Regions from separate parts of the Homo sapiens genome. Here region 1 is linked to region 2. The links are contacts of gene promoters, found by promoter capture Hi-C in human tissues and cell types (Jung and others, 2019). All regions are on one chromosome and are shown on one strand. The core of a region is centred on a gene start or on the middle of the fragment in contact, and the rest is flanking DNA. Distances in the headings are between cores, read along the strand shown. Region 1 has its middle 25 kb from the start of CCNA1. Region 2 holds the start of SMAD9 (SMAD family member 9).

The links. The method cuts DNA at HindIII sites, captures the fragments that hold promoters and counts their contacts. A contact is called where the count stands out against the background at its distance.
Region 1: a fragment that was not itself captured here is called in contact with the fragment with the promoter of SMAD9 in region 2 in 2 of the 25 tissues and cell types used here (dorsolateral prefrontal cortex and spleen).

The regions. Positions count from the first base shown.
Region 1 is chr13:36,455,665-36,459,210 of GRCh38, forward strand. No RefSeq gene overlaps it. Among named protein-coding and RNA genes, the nearest start is that of CCNA1, 25 kb to the left of the region's middle. The HindIII fragment of the contact is 3,801 bases long and covers 1-3,387 here.
Region 2 is chr13:36,918,745-36,922,370 of GRCh38, forward strand. It overlaps SMAD9 (SMAD family member 9), which reads right to left and starts at 1,494. Exons shown (of 7, transcript NM_001127217.3): 1 at 1,372-1,494. RefSeq lists silencers at 1,405-1,474, 1,585-1,634. The HindIII fragment of the contact is 20,741 bases long and covers 1-3,626 here.

The DNA.
Region 1 (3,546 bases), core at 237-2,736, 460 kb before region 2:
ATTAGCTACTGCTATTTATACAACACATTGAATGATGTGACTGTTGGCCATGAACAATTTGTAACTTTACTAAAATGGATCTCCATTCTAATAAGCAGCTTTAAGGAGGAGTTTTATAACCTTAGGAGAGTGTTTTGGGGCAACAATTAATTTACTAAATATAAGCAATATATTTTTTTTCTTACATAATAGGAATCTTGTCACTTTAGGCAACCTGTTGGAAAAACAAGTTTTACTATTTTTGCAAGTCATCCATGAGGAGGAAAAGACAGATTGCTTAATCTGAAACTTTCAAAAGGATGAAATATAATAGTTAGAGCTACCTTAATACATGAAATATGAATAAGGGATCTCTGGGTTGGTACAAACTATTTTTAAGTCCTTCTATACCTACAAGAATAACAACCTTGCTTAATTTAAAACATTACACCCCCTGTTTTTCCTTGGTTTGAGAAAACATAAGCAGATTTGACTTCACATTTTTTCGACAAGAACATAGTTAGCTGATGGAAGGTGGGATGTGACATGTTAGTCAATGATGGGCCCAAAGCTAACTGTGAGATCATCAGTGTAGTTTTAAAATCAATTGGCAACACAGTCCCATGGTGAAGTCGTGTGATAATTTTCTCAGACACCTAATGTTTCAAAAAACGTCACGCTATGAATTTTGATTATGGTTGTAATCTAAACTGGCTCTCCAGTTTTAAAATGATTACATAAAAGCATTGATTTGGTGCCTAAAACACATTTTTGCTCAAGAAGCACATTTGGGTGAAATGAACAGTTTCTAAATGAGCAGCATACATTTCCTTCACTTTAGAAAATAATCAGTTAATATATTCTTCTCTTACGATGCTACCAATTCAAAGCTTTTATGCATTTGTATTTACATAAATATATCATCACCTAATTATTAATGCTGAATTAGCTGTGCTAGTTCATTTTCTGTGAGTGACCCCAATAATCTTAGCCTTAACAAATTTAGGGAGGAAGGAATGACTAAGGCATTAACATCCAAGTTCTGCAATGAGGCCTCCAGCATGCCCTTGTGTCTGTGTTGTTAGAGACTTTCAGTGAGAACAAGGAGTGCTTGTAATCCTTTCAGTTGTCTCTTACTTAATGTTTGCCCAGAGGCTGGGTTTAATCTGGGCGAGGGCTCCTGGGGTCTCAGTTTGTGTAACTTTTTTGAGGCAAGGGCAGCAAGGAAGAAGCATTCTACTAGGCAGGTTTAGACGATGTCCAAGCTTGTAAGTCACCTGTGATGTCCAAGCTTGTAAGTCACCTGGGGGACTATCAAAAGATTTTTATGATTCAGAGGTGCCAGCAGGCAAGATTCCAGGCCAATTTGGAGAAATGAGAATAAGAAAAGAAAAAAAGAAATCCCAGATGAAAATAATTCAAGCCAAAACTCATGAGAAGTCACGGGCACAGTTCAGGAATTCTGTTAAGATTGAATAATAGGTTGTTATTAAGCCTAATCTTAAGAAAAAGACTCGCAGAGAGATCCTGGTCTAATCTTCATTTTCAACTCATTCAGTCCCTAGACTTGTTGTCATCCAGTCCCTGAATTGTTGTCATTGTAGAATACCAGAATGATACTGCTGTAGAGGAAATGGTCACCAACTCCCTGAATCAACTGGGATTTTTCCATTTCCCAGGGGAGGTAAGAATGCAAAAAGGTGAGGAAAGGATCTGAGCCAGCAATATGTTACTAAATATTTAACAACTGGGCCGGGCGTGGTGGCTCATGCCTGTAATCCCAGCTGAGGCAGGCAGATCACCTGAGGTCAGGAGTTCGAGACCAGCCTGGCCAACATGGCAAAACCCCATCTCTACTAAAAAATACAAAAATTAGCTGGGCATGGTGGCAGGCTCGAGTAATCCCAGGTACTAGCGTGCCGAGGCATGAGAATCACTTGAACCTGGGAAGCGGAGGTTGCAGTGAGCCGAGATCATGCCACTGCACTCCAGCCTGGGTGACAGAGTGAGACTCCGTATCAAAAACAAAAAACTAACAAAAATTGACAACTGGCTCTCTGGGGGAAAAAAAAGTATGCCTATGTACATGTACATATGCTTATGAATTGTACTAATGTAAAGAATATGTAGCATACAACTTATAAATAGTAAAAATATAATATTCATATAGCTAATTGATTCTTACAGAACACTTCTGCTAATTTTTGCTGAAATTTTAAAATCTATAGCCAATCTACAGTTGCCATTGAGAAACAAATGTAGTTCTCACATGAATGTTAGTGGATATTTTGATTTAAGGCAATGAATGAGACTAAGTAAAATACCAAAGATGTATGTGGGAAATCACTTTTTGGTCATTGACTGGAATGCTGGAAGAATATTTCCTCAATTTTTTAACACTATTCACAATGCAATGGCCAGAGACATAACATATTTAAGAAGATTAATCTGCATTATTTACATTTTATCCATCACTTTCTTAAGTTTAAACAAGGAACTGGAAAACTTTTCCTGTAAAGGGCCAGATAGTAAATATTTTAGGCTCTACAGGCCATATGGTCTCTATCTCAACTATCTCTGTCTATACAATTCTGCCTCTGTAGCACACAAGCAACCCACAGACAGTATGTAAACCAATGAGCGTGACTGTATTCCAACAAAACTTTATTTATGAACACTGAAATTTGAATTTCATATAGTTTTCATAAAATATTATTCTTCTTTGAATTTTTTTCAACAATTAAAAAATATAAAAGCCACTTTAGCTCATAAGCCATACAAAAATGGGCAATGGGCTAGATTTGTTTTATGTGTTACAGTTTGCCATGTTCTCGTCTAATCAATCAACAAAACAATAAATAAATTCATAGCAGTTATCAACTTCTGTGATATAAATATTCTCACCATGGCTGATTTCAAGCTCTCAATGTGACATCATTGAATGCTGTGGAGAGATGTGGAGTAGCACGTCATTATACAGTATTTCCACCCTATGGATATAATAGATAAGAATAACCTCAAGAACACAGATAATATTAAAATGTAGTAAAAATAATTAAAATTATGAGTGTTGAGCATTTATTACCTTATTTCTAGTATAACTTAATTATTTGTAAGCTTATACAATTTTATTTGTTATTTCTATTTTTTATTTATTTTTGAGACAGAGTCTCCCTCTGTCGCCCAGGCTGGAGTGCAGTGGCGAGATCTCGGCTCATTGCAACCTCCATCTCCCAGGTTCTAAGCGATTCTCCTGCCTCAGCCGCCAGAATAGCTGGGATTACAGGAGCGCACCACCACGCCCGGCTAATTTTGTATTTTTAGTAGAGACGGCGTTTCACCATATTGGCCAGGCTGGTCTCGAACTCCTGACCTCAGGTGATCCACCCACCTTGGCCTCTCAAAGTGCTGGGATTACAGGCGTGAGCCAATGCACCTGGCCTACAATTTTATTTTTAATAATGGCTGTGTTCAACAACTGGCTGGCAAAATTCTCAGACGTTTAACAATTGACTCCTGAGAGTTAGTACAGGTTGTCTCCACCAAATCACAAAACTTTGCGCTTTT
Region 2 (3,626 bases), core at 244-2,743:
TAAATATAGATCACTATTTTTAAAATGTAAACATCCAAAGGCATTCCCTCACACTTGGAGGAATGCTAAGGCAGGAGACATGCTTGTAGTAGTCACATTTCACTTTCCCAGACGGGTGCCACAAACGTTCCGCTCAGTTACTGCTTAGGAGGCAGCATTATTAAATGCCTCACGACTTAACGGTCAGCCTCCATGCTTCTTGCTAACCTACATTTCCAAAAGATCATCCGAGAAATCTGGCAAGCCACCGAAATGGTACTAGTAAACTGGATCCATCCAAAGCACTCCACAGTGCCCTGTGGGTGTGTTTCTCACTGTAAACTACTGGGTAAAGAATTTACATACAATTTTATCTCCAAACTCGATTTGTATCCTTTGTAGGTTAGTTCTCAGGAGTACCCACTCCAGCCCAGAAATAAGTCAACGTAGTATTTCCAAACTATCACTTCAAATGTCCACGGTCAAGGGCAGGAGGAGGAAGGAATAGTAACGGGAAAACTTGTCAGCGATTAGCCATCCATAAAAATGTTCTCCCAGCGCTCCTCCTTCCGATCACAAAGCTGGCGTCAGGCAGTCTCCTGTATCTGCTTCCCACCTCGCCCCCTCCCCTCTGCGGAGAGCTGGCACCGAGGGGCGGGCCAAGGAAAAGACAAACACCCCGGCTCCGACACAGTCCAAGCGCGAGCCCGGAGACACTTCAACAACATTCCTAACTTTTTTTCTCAGTTCGCATGCCTCAAAGGTAAACAAAGCAAAAAGCCTACGAAACAGAAGGCAAGTGAGGCCAATTCGGCGCTGGCGAGTTTAAAAGTGGCCCCCAAAGAGTCACAATGACGACCCCCGCCGCCCCCTCTGTCCGCTGTCCCCTATCTCCAGCTACAGCAAGCGACCCCTCAGGCGCCTATCCTGGTCCCTGCCCACGCCCCGGGCCCCAGCCCCGACCCGACCGCCGCCCCCGCCGCGGGTCGAACATCCCCTGACAGGTCCCGGGGCCCGCGGCGCGGGCGGATGCAGGCGCGAGGAAGGCGAGCTGCGCCGCGGCCAACTCCCCAGAGCAGTCCCCTCCGGCCCCGCGCCCACCCCACCCCACCCCACTCCACCCCAGACAGGCTCCACCAAAAAACCCGGGAACAACGACCGCCAAAAGCCAAGCCTCACGCCGAGGAGCCTCCCAGGCTGCCCCGAGGACGAACAACTTCGCCCTCCACTCAATGCGCTCACACGCACGCACACAAGCAGCGCGCGGCCGAGGAGGGCACGTCTTACCTGTCCCCGCCGTGCCACTCATCCCTCCCCCACCCAGGTCCGGCGCCCCCAACCCCGCCCCCGCCGTGGTCCCCCGGCCGCCCGCTCCGAGCGCCGCGCACTCACTGCCTGGCTGCGCGCGCCCAGCGCCTGCAGGGCCCGGCGGCGGCGGCGGGGACCGAGACAGCGGCTGCAGCAGCGGCGGCGGCGGCGGCGGCGGCGGCGGCCCCAGCCGGCGTCAGTCAGACTGGAGCCGCGAAGCCTCATCGCCCGTATTAGTGCGCCGACCTGGAAAGCGGCCAGGGAGCCCTGCTTGCGGCCCGCCCCCGCCCGCCGCCGCGCGCTCTGGCCGCTCCGGGAGCCGCAGAGGAGGGGGCTGCGCGGGCCCGGCGGGGGGCGGGAGCGAGACCGGCCCCACGGCCACGTGCGCGGAAACTCGCGGCGCGGGGGTGGCGGGGTAGTACTCCTCGCAGCGGCCTGCGGCTCGGTTCCCGCCTCTTCCCCACCCCCAGCCCCGCGCTGCCCTCTCGGTCCCCCTGCGCGACCCCAGGCTCGGCCCCTGCCCGGCCTGCCGGGGTGGCCCGGGGGTGGGGTGGGAGCCCTTTGTCTGCGTGGGTCGCCTCGCGTCTCTCTCTCCCACCCCACCTCTGAGATTTCTTGCCAGCACCTGGAGCCCGAAACCAGAAGAGTTGTCAGCCCAACAAGAATATAGGATCACCGGCCCATCAGTCTGGAGACCCTTCTGAGCTGCTGTTCCTCACATGTTTCTGGGCCCTGATAGTGACTCTCACTTGCCCTGTTTGTTCCTGATTTGCTTTTCGGAGTAAGGGGATCCTGTCCCCATGGACAGTGACAGAGCAACTGGGCCGCAATGGCATAGGCAGAAGAAAATCTAATCACTCTGGGGGTGAGTGGTGGTTAAAACGACTCATGTAATTATGTGGATTGTAATTTCCTTACACATATTTATTTGCTTAACAACCCAGCATGTGAGATATATTATCTAATCTAATAAAAGATACAAACTTATGGGCACACAGCAATGTTACTGTACAACTTTCTCGTCTCACGGCCTGGCTGTCCCCCAGGTAGCCTGCCTCTTAAAGTCACTGTGGACTCCTGGAACCCACTCAGAAACGCCACTTAGGAAGAACCACCTCTGATTCCCCATCAGCCCGTAGTTCCTCACAGAAAAGGCATTTGCTGCAGGGGTGAACGTGGAATAAAGCCACAGGGCAGTTTTCAGCTTGCTCCTGTGTGCAGGAAAGTCATACCTCCAGTTGGCCCCGATGGCGGCTCCGAAATGTAAAGCAAGGCCTTAAATTTAACTGCTTTTTCTAGTTCTCAAAGCACTGCACTTTCTTCATGGCAGATGCTATTTTTGCATTATTATACCGTTGTAGTTGAACGGTGATTTGTTTAAAACAACATTTGCAGCAGAACCTTAAATACCATGCCTTAACCTCAAAGTCTTCTTTCTACACTGGCCCAGATACCTCTGCACCCGGCTATGTGTTGGGTTTGAGATTGTCCTGGGTGAGAAACACCAGGAAACAGCGGGACCGGTAAGGGCTACAGATTATATATTAAGGATTAGGCTGGATGTGGACTTTATTGCCAGTAAACTAATTAGGTCCTCAGAATTGATACCTTGTGGCTCAAGTTTTTAAAAATTAAATTAAGAAAAGAAATGGCCCAATCACTATCTCAGTTTCCTTCTCGTATATGAGCATAATGCAGAGGACAAGATGCAGAGAAAGAAATTATAACCTCTGCAGCGCTGGCTCATGCTTCTGGCATGGAGTCTTTCTCAGTTCGCAGAATTCTCTTGACTCTTGGCAGGCCTTTGATTTAGAGTATGTCTAGTCTGCTCTTTTCTGTACGTTCTCATTTACATACCAGGATATTTCTGCACGATGATGACTTTTTCCTGCCTAAACATTAGTCTGTCACTGATATAATTCCTATCATGTATTCCTCAAGGCTAGTATAGAAAGTTAATCCATTACGCTCAAGAACAATAAGATCTGGTGAGTTCCAAGAAGGAGAAAATGCTTGGCCTAAGACAGAAGGCGCAGTGTTGACACTCCATTTTACAGAAGCTGACTGTCCTGGTTAATGGAAAGCTAGACTTCGCTTTATCTTTCCCAGTGATTTCTTGATTGGCTGTGGTTTTACTGCTTAATAGAACTTCCACCAAAACATTCTGTTATGGGAATCATATGAAAGGAGAGACTCAGAGGTTGTGATTTGGTAGAACCGCCAGTGAAATTTTGGTTCAGGACCTCAAAACCACGGCAAAACTGAAATCTGTTTTCTGAAAGATGATAAGGTCTTGGCCTAACACGAACTCCCTCAGGCTATAAAACAGTGGTAGGAAG